5 separate regions of the Homo sapiens genome follow, and all the other regions are linked to region 4. The links are contacts of gene promoters, found by promoter capture Hi-C in human tissues and cell types (Jung and others, 2019). All regions are on one chromosome and are shown on one strand. Each heading gives the region's core, a stretch centred on a gene start or on the middle of the fragment in contact. The rest is flanking DNA. Distances are from core to core; before and after follow the strand shown.

Region 1 (2,700 bases), core at 106-2,605, 1.2 Mb before region 4:
TCTGAAGGAGAAAAAAGTGTAGAAGTTTTAGCTCAACTGCTAAATTTGAAATGTTGGCTTACTCATAAGACACAAATGGAAGAGGCTATTTCTTTAAAATCACAGCTGGAAAGAACTTTTTTTTATGCTAGAAAAAATTGACCAAGTTTATGGAAAACAAAACTAAATAGGAATTATTAACAACTTCAACATACCCAGAAGTCTTTTACTGAGTTAGAAAAGAGCATGATAGAGAACAAATGTTATGAGAGAAAAAGACCGCTAACAATGATATTAAATGGGCCCACTTTTCCTCAAAATCTTGCAGTTCTCTGCAGTAGAATACTCACATACATACCCAGTATTCATTGTTATGGATCCTACTTGCTACAGACAGGGTCTTTATCCTCATTCATAATGTTTCTGTCTTGCCGTACTTTAGGGTGCAAGGGTCATAAGGGAGCCTCCTCTGCTCGTGCACACTGGACAGCCTTGTTCCTAGTCTCCCACAGTGCCCTGGCATACCTCTCTCATAGCTCTCCAACCATGATCAGTGGGACTGGGCAATGCCTCAGATTAGACTAGAAGCTCCCTGATAGCAAAGAGCCTGTGTGATTCTTCTCTGTACTCTAAGTTCCTTGCATAGCACATAGCAAAGATAAAGCACTCAAACATATTTGAACTAAAGGGAGAATCAATTTGTTCTACCACAAGTGAAAGGTGAAGTTTACTGTAAATGTGATGACTGTTGAACCAAATCTAAATAGCCTAAGCTGTAATTAACAGCCTTCATTTGGTTTGTAAAATGTTACCTTGATTTCTTTATTGCATAACATTCTCCAAGTTTTCAAAGTTTGGATCAGAAATCTGCACTTGCAGGATTTCTCCTTTCTTCATCTAAAAGTAGAGCACATATTCTTAAATCTTACCCCTCTCAAGTGAGTTCTTTTTCTTCTTGTCCAAATTGTGTGTGGGGTGGGGTGGGGGCACAGCCCGGATTTTCCTTATTTCAGTCAACAGTCTAAATTCAAGGGTCCAGACACTTAACAAATAGCTTCAAAATGTCCTTCACATTTTCTCATAGGTGATCCACCCTACCACATATTGTCTCCTAATGGCCGTCCAGTTTATCCTGGAGCCCTTGCATGACACAGGCCTATCGAAGCATAGGAGGTAAGTATCATGAAGATTCAGGGTCCTGTTACACTGGCGATGTTTTCAGTGTATCAGTGGCATAGGGTGTGTCAGACAATCTCCTATAAGACAAATGACAGATCATTACATCTCACACCTCTTACCCTGAGAAAGAAATGCAGAAGGCAGTGACCTCTGAGTTGATTACTACATGATAATTAAAGGGGAATGAAAGATGGCATTCTTGACCAAGTAAAGAGCATAAGTCAAGGTCTAAAGGTATGAAACAGCCTGATTTCTATAGGGAAGCAAAAGCAATTTGATATAATTAGAGTATAAACTGCAAGGCAAGAAGTGTTGAGAGAGGTGATTAGAAAGACAGAGCTGAAACAACAGGCTTAACCACTGAAGGGTCTTAAGTAGGAGACCCTTTCTTGGTCTTTCCAGAAAGCAGAAACTGAGGCGATGTTTGTGGGCTACAAATTTCCTGAAAATGTTATCACAGAAAATTAGGTGTGAGGGAAAAAGGAAGCAACACAGGGCAGAAGGAAGACTGAAGTGAGGATGCTACTGAGCTATCCAGTACAACTGGTCACTTCGTCTTGCAAGATGGTCTTCTGAGAAATAACAAGAAAAACTGAATCTAAAGATAGCCTGTTCAGAAGAGAAGGGAATAGGAATTTTATCTGCCACTTTTCAATTTCCATTTGTCAGGATTTCACCTCGTTGCGTATCAGGGCTTTATATTTCCTTGGTGTGTCAGGATCAAGTACTCAATAGTGTACCAGGAGCTGTTTCTCAAACAGTGAGAATTTCTGTGACTCAGAAGGTATAGTCTTGCTCCAGAAACTGAGGTATTTGCATTGTTACCCTCCTACTGAGGGTTATCAGTTACTCCACACAGCATTTTTACCTATCAGAAGCATCTCTACTGCCATCAAAACTTCAGGGTCATAGAGTATGTTTGTGTGGAACCTTAGGTCATAGTCTGACTTACTGCAGAAACCTCTCTTGCTGGCTGTCTTCTGAATAAATCAATTGGATTTGCATTAACAAAGGTATTCTTTGCTACCTACAAACTCCAAAGAATTCAACAAATGTTCTACTTTTCCTTATCAGAAGGAGATTTATATTAGAGACTATTAGGGATAGGAAAAAAAGTGTTTCTCCTACTCTCACAAACCACTCAACACCACACTTCTGACACCAGATGTGTGAGGATTATTTCCCCATACACAAAGTACTTCTTCAGCAGACACCAGCTGGGTGTGCTGTAATTCAATTCTGACACTATTTTCCTGTACATAGTGTTAGATCTCACAGATTGAGGATTCAGTTCCACAAGACTCACACCTCCCCACATCAGATACCAACTGCAAGTCCCATGTTGTGACCTGTACTTCTGACAGACCAGCTACAAAATGCAGGCTCTTATGACTCCCTCCTCAGGTTTGAATAATTTGCTAGATCAGCTCATAGAACTCAGGGAAACACTTTACTTACACTTGCACCCACTTATTATAAAGTATATTACAAAGGACTCAGATGAGTATCCAGCCAGTTGTAAGAGAAGCATAAAGCATGGCA
Region 2 (2,770 bases), core at 51-2,550, 1.6 Mb before region 4:
AGAAATAAAAAATTATTTGAAATAAATGAAAACAGAGGAATAATATACCCAAATCTCTGGAAAGTGGCAAAAACATTGTTAAGAGTGGTGTTTATGGTGCTAACACTTACCTCGAAATGTTAGAAAGATCTCAAATCAATAATCAACATCACACCTAGATGAACTAGAAAAACATGAACAAACTGACTTCAAAGCTAGCAGAAGAAAAGGAATAATTAAAATGAGAGAAGGACTGAATGACACTGAGACCAAAATATCTATATAAGTAATCAACCAAGCCAAAAGTTGGTTGTTTTTTTCTGAAAGGATAAAGAAAATCAATAGACTACTCACTAGATTAACAAAGATAGAAGATACAAATAAGCAAAATCAGAAATGATAAAGATGATATTACAAATAATCCCACAGAAATACAAAAGATCCTTAGAGAACCTTATGAAGAACTTTGATGCACACGAACTAGAAAATCTCGAGGAAATGGATAAATTCCTGGAAGCACAAAATCTTCTAAGAATGAGTCAGGAAGAAATGGAAACCCTGAACAGACCAGTACTGAGTTCTGAAATTGAATTAGTAATAAAAAACCTACCAACCAAAACCCAAACAACAAAACCCCAGACTAGATGGATTCAGTCAGTTTCTACCAGACATACAAAGAACTAGTGTCAATTCTACTGAAACTTTTCCAAAATATCAAGGAGGAGGGACTCCTCCCCGACTCATTCTATGAAGCCAGTATTGCCTTGGTACTAAAACCTGGCAAAGACAAAATAAAAAAAGGAAACTACAGGTCAATATCCCTGGTGAACTTAGAGGCAAAAATCCTCAACAAAATACTAGCAAATCCAGCAGCACATCACCAAGTTAATTCACCATGATGAATTAGGCTTCATTCCTGGGATTCAAGGTTGGTTCAATATAGGCAAATCAATAAAGGTGATTCACCACATAAACAAAGTTAATGACAAAAACCATATGATCATCTCAATAGATGCAGAAAAAAGCTTTTGATAAAATCCAACATGTCTCCATGATTAAGAAAAACCCTCAAGAAACTAGGCATAGAAGGAACATGTTTCAAAGTAGTAAGAGTTATCTATGACAGTCCCACAGCCAACATCATACTGAATGGGCAATATCTGAAATAATTCACCTTGAGAACTGGAACAAGACAAGGATGTTCACTCTCACCACTACTATTCAATACAGTATTGGAAGTCCTAGCCAAAGTAATCAGGGCAAGAGGAAGAAATAAAAAGCATCCAGATAGGAAAAGAAGAAGTTAAAGTGTCTCTTATTCACTAGCAATTTGATTCTATACCTAGAAAACCCTAAAGACTCCACCAAAAGACTCCTGGAACTGACAAATAACTTCAGTAAAGTTTCAGAATACAAAATTAGCAGCATTTCTATACACCAATAATGTTCAAGCTGAGATGCAAATCAGGAACATTATCCAATTTACAATGGCTGCAAAAAGAAAAAACAACCTAGAAATACATCTAATCAAGGAGGTGACAGATCTCTACAAGAATTATAAAACACTGCTGAAAGAAATCATAGATGACACAAGCAAATGGAGAAAAATTCCATGCTCATGGATTGGAAGAATTAATATTGTTAAAATGGCCATACTGCCCAAAGCAATCTACAGATTCAGTGCTATTCCTATCAAGCTACAAACTTCATTTTTTCACCAATGAAAAACTAAAAAAAAAAAAACTAAAAAAACTCTTCTAAAGTTTACATATATTATATATATGTATTTTATATATATACACATATATATACACATATGTGTATATATATATAGAGAGAGAGAGTGAGAGAGAGAGAGAGAAGAGAGAGAGCCTGAATAGCCAAAGCAATTCTAAGGAAAAAGAACAAAGCCAGAGGCATCACATTACACAACTTCAAACTATACTGTAGGGCTGCAGTAACCAAAACAGCTTGGTACTGGTATAAAAACAGGCACACAGACCAATAGAACAGACTAGAGAACCCACAAATAAAGTCACACATCTACCCATCTGATCTTTGACAGAGGTGACAAAAATAAGCAATGGGAAAGCACTCCCTATTTAATAAATGGTGCTGGGATAGCTGGGTATGCAGAAGAATGAAACTGGACCCCTACATTTCACCATATACAAAAATTAACTCAAAATGAATTAAAGACTTAAATGCAAGACCTCAAATTATATAAATCCTAGAATAAAACCTCAGAAACAGTATTTGGGACATAAGTCTTAGGAAAGAATTTATGACTAGGTCCTCAAATGCAATTGCAACAACGTTAAAAAAGACTGGCACATGGGACCTAATTAAACTAAAGAGCTTCTGCATAGCTAAAGAAACTATTATATCAAGAGAGTAAATAGACAACCTACAGAATGGGAGAAAATACTTGAACACCTATGTATTTGAGAAAGGTCTGATATCCAGAATCTATAAAGAACTTAAACAACTCATCAAACAAAAGACAACCCCATGAAAAAATGGGCCAAATACATGAACAGACACTTCTCAAAAGAAGACATATAAGCAGCCAACAAACATAAGAAAAATGTTCAACATTACTAATCATTAGAGAAATGCAAATCAAAACCACAATGAGATACAATCTCACACCAGTCAGAATGGCTATTATTAAAATGTCAAAAGTAACAGATACAGGCTAGGCTGTGAAGAAAAAGGAATGCATATATATTGCTGGTGAGAATGTAAATTAGTTCAGCCACTGTGAAAAGCAGTTTGGAGATTTTTCAAA
Region 3 (2,900 bases), core at 146-2,645, 1.1 Mb before region 4:
CTCATAGTTCCTTCTCCCACTCATAGTTTAAGAACACCTACCCATGGGACAGAGAGCAAAGGTGAAATGACACAAAAAGATCCATGCCCCTTTTCATATTCAACTCTGGTAGTCAAATTCGTGCAAGCCAATGGATTAGCTCTCACTGTTCGGGTAATTAAGATATTTGCTATTCATAGTTAAAAGGAGATCAGAATAATACAATGGAACACACAGTAACCAATACAGTGGAAAGAAGTTAAACCTGGAAAGTAATGTTAAGATGTCTATTTAAGGCACTCAAATCTGGAAAACTGTTTAAGTAACTGTAATAAATCATTAATGAGTGAGCAGTAAAACACTGTTTAATCATTAATTAACCATGTATTAACAGTAGAAAATATTAGTAATTCATCCTTTACTGTACCTAGCGATAACTATAAAATTAAGTGCTTATGGATTCATGTAATTAATTATTTAATGTATTTTCTAATTAAGATATAATATAGTTATAAGAATTTTGCTTCTGTTAACTACCAAAATAGCATGGTAGTTTACAGGTTGATTTTCAACCTAACCTTACTGCCTTCATGTTTTCCTTATTGTTAAAGTGCTATTTTATACAAGTATAAGTTTACTTAAATGGTAAAATACCCCTAAGATGCAATCTGATATGGCTTTCCCATAACCCATTTATTTTTATATATGTCAAACCTTATATTTTTTCTTTTTCAAATTGACCAAAATGATCTTTAATCTAAAATTGGCTCTGATTTGACTGAAGGCAACTGCAGAGCTTCTAGGTAACTAATTTTCCTAAAATAATTGCCATAAATGTTATTCCCACTGTAATATAAAAGATAATCGAAAGGGCTTTTGCATGTGTCAACTAAAGCTTTCAGCTAATACTGTGCTTTATCTGCCGATGAAATGTGGCTAGCTCAACCATTTTTTATTATATAGTACAACATATAAAAACAAAGATGCAATATTTTAATTTTTAAACATTTGACATATTTTAATTTTTAAACATTTGACATCAGACATTTTGATTAAAATATGTCATCCTGAGCAATGAAATTTCATTCTGTTTACCATTGTAATAAGAATTACCTTCAAAGGTTATTATTTGGGTTTACTAGAAAATGATCCAGAGTAATCTATTATTACATAAACTAAACTAGGGAAGGGCTTAATATTGTTTATTTTTTCTAGTTAATATTATAACAATTTTTCTTAATAATATTTGTGAAAAACAAAACATATTAAATTGATGAAATGTTATACAATGTGAGCGAATTGGCTATCTACTGTGGAGTCAGAGGCTCAATTGTACATTTTAGTAAAATATCATATGAACATTCTTAATCAAAAGTTTACGGAAACATAGGTCAGTGTAATGTGGGAAATTAAAAACAAAGTTTACAGAAATAAAGATTTTAGTTAACCATCTGAACAATAAAAATGTTTGTCTTTTGGGACTTTAATTCAGTTGTAAAGGGGGTGTAAATAAGAATAGAAGCAAATCTGAGGTACTTTAGGTTAACCATTGGGTGTTTAAATGTATTGAAGGTGAAAAACTGTACTTACAGAGCCATCAATTCCAGCCACAAAGCGATGGCCCTGTGGTCTTTGTCATTCTTGTCATTCAATCCCCATCACTATCCAATCAGGTGGTAAGCAGGGGAGCCTAGACCAGACAGTAAAACTCGGAGCAATTGGATTTGTCTATCCTAACAAGGCTGCATTCGCCTTAGTGACTGCCAAGTCACTAACTCCACCTCTTTTCCCCACAGGCAAAACATTTTAGAACTGTCATAAAGAAAATGCCATTGCTGGGATGTCAAAAATTCCTTTTACTCCTCCTTGAAATTAAGTTTTGTGTATGTGCAAGCATACATGAACTGACTTTAATAAAAGCCACTCTGAGGAAAATGTGAAAAAATAGAACTGCTTATAATCATTAAAACATTTTGTTGTGGAGACAAGAAGAGCATCTGGCCGTGGCAGAAATAAAAGTGTTTGTTGGGAAGCTAAACTACTGTTCATGGTTCTGGAAAATAATTAATGTGGTCCAGCACTGCCATGGATATCATATGAGTGAGGTAGGCTTGCTTTCATGGAGCAAAATCTCCCTGTATAACGTCTCTTTTCCAAGGATAGCATATTTCACTATTTGCCATTTAAACCAGATCAATAGCGGTGGGAGTATCGAGCTCATGAGGCCAAAGTCACAGCTATAGAGAAAAACTCCATTCCCAGAGAAGACAACTGAGTGTACCCCTATCCCTGAGTGGTCCTGTCATCAGCCCTAAGCTAAGTAGGGATGTGGAATGCCAACCACCAGAACAACCATCTCTGGGAAACCTGCTCCAGTGCCTGCCTTGGAGGTTTGTCAGTGGGCTCCGCCTCTCCATGAGGCTGAGGTCTTAAATAGTGACTGAAGTCTTCCTGAAGTAAAACGTTAGCATAATAGGCCGATTCCACTTAGCATCCAAGTTATTTCAACCCAGTGCAAGGGTAATCTGACAAAAACACGGAGTTCCTCAGAACATTGCAAGGGCTAAATGACTTCTATATATTGTGAATACTGACTCAAAAGAAAAAGCAATATGAAAAGGCATTTAGCTTTGGATATCAAGCCACTAGAAAATAATATAGTTAGAATTTCTACTCCACACTTTCCATGTTAGCATTAAACTAAGCTTCTTGAAGGCCAAGTCACTGTTGTTTTCATCTTAGAATCCTCAGCGCTTATCACTGTATTGACTACCTTGTAGATTAGCACTGTCCAATAGAAAATAATGAGTCACATACGTAACTTTAAATTTTCTAATAGTCACATGTAAAAAATAAACCAGTGAAGTTAATTAATAATACAATTGACTTAACACAATAGTCCAAATAATTATCATTTCAAC
Region 4 (2,812 bases), core at 235-2,734:
CTCATAATCACTTTTACATGATTCTCTATTATTACAATAGTCACAACTCTATTAATATCTGGATTTATTTATGTCTTGTCGATTTTAGAATTTAAAAGCTCTATCCCCAAAGCCTCCCGTAGTATACAGTAGGTACCTAATAACTTTATTAAATACGTGAATTTTCCCCATTGCATTATTGTAAATCAACCAATTCTGATTAAGCACTTTGGTCCATGTCATATTTTGTATTAACAAGTCGTCAAAACACTCCTTAAATTTTCCAATCTAAGACTATTTCAGCACTCTAACCGCAGCCCCCAACACAAAATCTATCTATAGCATCCCACTTAAAACTGCTAAATATTCCATATGGATGAAGATTCAATTTTCTTCCTCCTCTCCAAGCTAACGAACGCGTAGGCGGGAAAGGGGAATTTTACTGGCCACCTCAGCACCTGTTACATCTTCAATCAGTGAAGAGAGGTGCAGATGAGCCAGACAGCACATGGGAGACGTGGCCTTGCTTTCAGGAATTATATTTAGGTGAAACGTGAGTGATTTAAGCTAGAACTGCCCGAATCCCCAATAAAGGCCGTCTACTTCATTTAGAAAAACAAGGTAAAATAATCTGTAGGAAGTAAAATACAGTCGGTTTCACTAAAATAAACCGATTTTGAGGCCCCCGGAAAATATTGCGGGTGGGGGTTGGAGACGGTCTATATATAACGGGAAAACGAGAGCAGCTCAGCAATAAAATAAAGCTCGACTCAGGCTCTCGGGGGTATCCTGAATCTGGAAGCGAGGTGGACGAGGAGGAGAAGCCACAGAACCCTGGGACCTCCGTTCACCGCTTCGGCCTCCACCGCAGGCACTTGGGGAAACTGCACAGATCTCTGGGTCCGCCTATCTCCCACTGCCATCCCTGCAAAGAGATATCCCCCGGATACTCACATGGGCTCGAGAGTCTTGCTGAGCCAGGACTTGAGTGCCTCGAAGTTTTCAATGATCATTTTAGAAACCATCCACAGCGGCCCTAAGGCCCGTCACACTCCTCCGCCCGCCCAGGTCGCGGCCGCTACAGCCGCCGCTGCCCCCGCCCCCTCCTCCGCGCGCCGCCCGCGTGGGCCGCGGTGGGAGGCGCCGGTGGCAGGTTCCCGCGGGCCCCGGTCGGCGAACAGCTCTGCAAGGACCGCCGCAGGCCACAAGTGCACGGGGTGCCAGGAGCTCCCCGTCCCCGGCCCCCAGCCCGGGCTGAAACAGCAACGGTTTGCCCGGGCCCTCCCCCTTCCCTCTTCCCCAGCAAATCTACCCAGACCGGAAGCGCGACACGCGCTTAGACCCGAGCCTTCTCTCAGCCTCGGGACCAGGTGCTTGTTGGCTACGTCGAAAAGGCAAAAGTAAAGAAAGCGAAGGCGAAGGGCAGCTCAATGGGAACGATTCAGGGGGTCTTCCCGGCTCCCAGCACCCCCAAGAAGATGGCTGCCGGTAAATCTCGCGAGAATTGATGAAGTCTCGCGGTGGCTCCCGGAGCCTGCTGGGAGAGACGTAAGGTCGGCGGAGAATGCGCGGGTCGAGTGCTGTAGTTCGATTTTTGCGTGTGTGCGTTGCTTGCGGCCTTTGTGCCTTTTTATTCTTTGCTTACCTTTATGATATAAAGACCTTATTTCTTACAAGGAGGAAAAGACCGCTGACTTCAGAAACAGCGGGAACCCCAGCTCGTCCCCGGTAAGACGGCCGTGGCCTGTCAGCTGGAACGGTCCTGCCGGATGGATCGCTCTTTGAGAGCGTACACTCCCGCGTGCGCGACACCAGGCGGCCCGTAGGTTCCAGGTGCCGAGCACACTACCTCCTCAGTTTACCTAAGTGCCCTACCAGTATCATATTCTGTGTATGCTGTGATGTGAACGAGGTTTGTAAACACAGGCTGGTCTAATGGAGCCCAATGAGACCGCCAGAGGATTAGTGTCTTGTCCAACAGTACTTGACTTGCTGGTAGAGCCCTAATGACTGAGGGCTGCCCACAAGGGAAAGGTGAGAGAACCTTCACGTCTCTCAGGTAGTTTCCAGCCTGCACTTTCCCCCAGCTAAAGATAAGTTTTGTTATTTTTAAAATTCTCTTTATTTAGAGCAAATTCAGCCCTATCTCAGATCGGGAAATTATATAGTATCAAAAGAGAGAGTCTTCATATTAGCAACCCAAATAAATAAACTATTTTCCTGGGTGATCAAATAAGTTTGATTCCTGCTTGAGTTCTATTTAGATACTAGGTGGAATTTTACAAAGGGTCTACGTTCCATGAACTGTAATGGAATGAAAATATTCACAATCTAAAGACATTTTCAGTAAGTAGATCAATAAAAGCTCTTTATGAGAGACACCGATAGGCTAAATTGTTCTTAGGAACTCTTGAGTTTATAATTTGCTAGAGTGAAGTGTCTTTAAGGATTAGGTGGAAAGATTATGAACTACAAAGCAAGACATTTGTTTTAAAATACAGCATATAGAGTAGAATACAAATTAGAATCCAGCTACTGAATAACCAGGGTGTTGATTAAAGTGATTTAGCTGAGTGAAATAAACCAGACATGAAAGGACAAATATTATGATTCCACTTACATTAAGTACCTAGAGTAGTCAAAACTCCTAGAGACAGAAGGTGGAATGGTAGCAAGAGCAGGGGTGGAGAGGGTGCCCAGGAGAAGGGGAAATGAGGAGTTATATTTCAGTGGATAATAGAGTTTCAGTTTAGGATGATTTAGATTCTGGAGATGAGTGGTGTTGTGTGGGTTGCACAATATGAATGTACTTAATGCAGTGGACCATATACTT
Region 5 (2,700 bases), core at 109-2,608, 1.0 Mb before region 4:
CAGGTGTTCTCATTGTTTAACTCCCACTTATGAGTGAGAAGATGTGGTGTTCGGTTTTCTGTTCCTGTGTTAGCTTGCTGAGAATGATGGTTTCCAGCTTCATCCATGTCCCTGCAAAGGACAGGAACTCATCCTTTTTATGGCTACATAGTATTCCATGGTGTATATGTGCAACATTTTCTTTATCCAGTCTATCATTGATGGGCATTTGGGTTGGTTCCAAGTCTTCGTTATTGTGAATAGTGTTACAGTAAACATACGTGTGCATGTGCCTTTATAGTAGAATGATTTATAATCCTTTGGGTATATACCCAGTAATGGAATTGCTGGGTCAAATGGTATTTCTGTTTCTAGATCCTTGAGGAATCACCACACTGTCTTCCACAATGGTGGAACTAATTTACACTCCCACCAAGAGTGAATAACCGTCCTGTTTATTTGAAACCTGTCAGACCTTAAGTCCCACAGAAAAAGCGAAGAACTCAAATAAAAATATATGACCTGAAATATGGTGACAAAGCAAATGAGCTTTGAAATCAGAGGACTGGTTTTAAATCCAGGTTTTGACATTCTTTGAACAACTCTGGGTGATTTTCTTGACCCAAACTCTAATGTTTTCATCTATAAAATAAAGATAATCATAGAATGTACTGTCTAAGGCTATTGGTAAGATTAAATGAGATAATATCTGGAAAGCACTTAGCAGAGTATTCCATAAGTGGCTGCTTTTATTACTGTAACTTCTTGCTCATTTGGGGATAGACCCATTGCACAGATCCTTCCTCTTCAGATTGTTTCTTGTGCCCATTTGATGAGGTCCTGTTATATATGAAGGATTAAGCATCATTGCCTTGGTAGGAAGTCTTGATTGATCAACCATAGCTCTATTAGAAATATATGAGCTTATGATTTACACTAGAGATCCCCAGACACAGCCAATACAGCAGAACTTTGAAAAGCAAAAGCTTTGTGTTTCATACATTTAGATCTTTATCACTCTTATTTTAATCTGTGGCATGTGGAGTACATTATTTTTTCTAGGCTTTCATTAAGCAGATTACTAATAAGAAACAAAATCTTATCATCTTAGAACATGTTTTGCAGCCACTGCTTATGCCAAAACATCCATGGATTAGTTAAGAATGCCAACTAGCTGTCCTTAGGTTTTAAAGGGTTTTTCTATCATAGTACTATATTATTTCTTTAGATGACATCGATTTTTATTCTCTGTTCTGTGAAGTCTGATACATAATGCATACTAGCCTCAAAGAAAGCACCCAAAAAGACCACCCCAACAAAATATCTAGTTTCTTGTGTGGAAAGCACACAGGGAGTAACATGAAAGCATGTATGCACGCACATGCACGCATGCGCGCGCGCGCGCGCGCGCGCACACACACACACACACACACACACACAATTGCGTTCTTCATGACATAATCACTTAAGTTCATATCCGTAACAGCAAGTAATAGGGTTATAGCAAAGGTTCAATGAATGCTTATTAAAAGAATTAATAGAAGAACTAATGAATTAGAAGAACTAATAGAAGAACTTCTTCTAATAGAAGAACTAATAGAATTAATGAGGTAGAAACATAAGAGTATTATAAACTTGTATACATGTGAATGAGTATACAGCATATGCTACATATTTTCTACTAAGATCTTTTTAATTATGAGAGCTACATATTATTTTGAGATTGTTCAATAAAGCTCCCCGCCTTCTTTTACATAAATACCATTGCTGTTTTAAGCAGATAGGGGCTAATAAATGGTTTTACCAGATATTTCTTCCTGCAGGGGTGGCAGATGTACACAGGGAATCAGTTACTTAATTCCCCTAATCACCCATTTCTTTCCTCCCTCTTCATTCTGTGCTTGGAAACTTCAACATTCCCCAGTGTGCTAATAGCTGACCCGGGAAACTGGCAGAAACCAAAACCTTCTCTTGAAACCAGCAGGCTCCATATGGTTGCTTCAAGGATGGAGGGTGACCCTGCCAAGTCTCCTGCAAAGGGATTTCACAGAGCAGAGAGGCAAACGTGTGTCTTTAAACGTTAGTCATTGAGCCAGAGAGAAGAAATCATTTTCCTGATGAAAGGCAGTTAAAGTACTTTGCAGCTTCTGATCTGCAACCTATAGGAAGTTTTGTACAATGGCGGCTCAATGCCAAGCATTAAAAATAAATGTAATCATCAGATGATTAGCTCTAAAAATCTTCCCTCAAAAAATGATAGAGTTGTCAGTTACAGTTGAACATACATATGCATATTTGAAAACACGGAGACCAAGAATAACTTTGCGTGTCTGAAACCAGCACTATTCTACGTGTGTGAGGGTAACAGAGGCTATGACATAGCATATGAAGTCAATGGTGGAGTTGTTATTATTTATACATGAGTAAAGATTACAAATGCAAGCCCCAGCTCAGATCTCTCACCCCCTGGATCTGTGAAACCTGTCACTCAGTCTCCCGCGGTGTGTCTTCCTGTCTCGGAGCCATTGGACCACCTGCTGCCAAGACTCTCATCTACTGCATCGCCCGAAGGCCTCGATGATAACAGCATTGATTCCAATGTACATCTAATTACTTCTCATAATCTATTCATTTCACAATAGTGTAGTGAAACATCTGTCACATCATAAACTCTTTAGTAGCCTTATCAAACCACCAAAACACACTCTGCTGCCAGTTGGC

Evidence for each region. The method cuts DNA at HindIII sites, captures the fragments that hold promoters and counts their contacts. A contact is called where the count stands out against the background at its distance.
Region 1: a fragment that was not itself captured here is called in contact with the fragment with the promoter of RBM26 in region 4 in 1 of the 25 tissues and cell types used here (lymphoblastoid cells).
Region 2: a fragment that was not itself captured here is called in contact with the fragment with the promoter of RBM26 in region 4 in 1 of the 25 tissues and cell types used here (dorsolateral prefrontal cortex).
Region 3: a contact is called between a fragment that was not itself captured here and the fragment with the promoter of RBM26 in region 4, in 1 of the 25 tissues and cell types used here (lymphoblastoid cells).
Region 5: a contact is called between a fragment that was not itself captured here and the fragment with the promoter of RBM26 in region 4, in 1 of the 25 tissues and cell types used here (dorsolateral prefrontal cortex).

What each region holds. Positions count from the first base shown.
Region 1 is chr13:78,188,545-78,191,244 of GRCh38, forward strand. It overlaps OBI1-AS1 (OBI1 antisense RNA 1), which reads left to right. Exons shown (of 6, transcript NR_047001.1): 2 at 1,064-1,152. Among named protein-coding and RNA genes, the nearest start is that of OBI1-AS1, 140 kb to the left of the region's middle. The HindIII fragment of the contact is 4,851 bases long and covers 1-2,700 here.
Region 2 is chr13:77,794,252-77,797,021 of GRCh38, forward strand. No RefSeq gene overlaps it. Among named protein-coding and RNA genes, the nearest start is that of EDNRB-AS1, 23 kb to the right of the region's middle. The HindIII fragment of the contact is 7,775 bases long and covers 1-2,770 here.
Region 3 is chr13:78,300,619-78,303,518 of GRCh38, forward strand. All of the region lies in intron 3 of OBI1-AS1 (OBI1 antisense RNA 1), which reads left to right. Among named protein-coding and RNA genes, the nearest start is that of OBI1-AS1, 250 kb to the left of the region's middle. The HindIII fragment of the contact is 4,582 bases long and covers 1-2,900 here.
Region 4 is chr13:79,404,771-79,407,582 of GRCh38, forward strand. RBM26 (RNA binding motif protein 26) reads right to left here and starts at 1,485. Exons shown (of 22, transcript NM_001366735.2): 1 at 934-1,485. The coding sequence starts at 1,004. RBM26-AS1 (RBM26 antisense RNA 1) reads left to right here and starts at 1,539. Exons shown (of 7, transcript NR_038991.1): 1 at 1,539-1,707. RefSeq lists a silencer at 1,041-1,240 and enhancers at 1,150-2,141, 1,471-1,770. The HindIII fragment of the contact is 11,102 bases long and covers 1-2,812 here.
Region 5 is chr13:78,380,672-78,383,371 of GRCh38, forward strand. The region is part of intron 3 of OBI1-AS1 (OBI1 antisense RNA 1); the gene reads left to right. Among named protein-coding and RNA genes, the nearest start is that of POU4F1, 220 kb to the right of the region's middle. The HindIII fragment of the contact is 4,502 bases long and covers 1-2,700 here.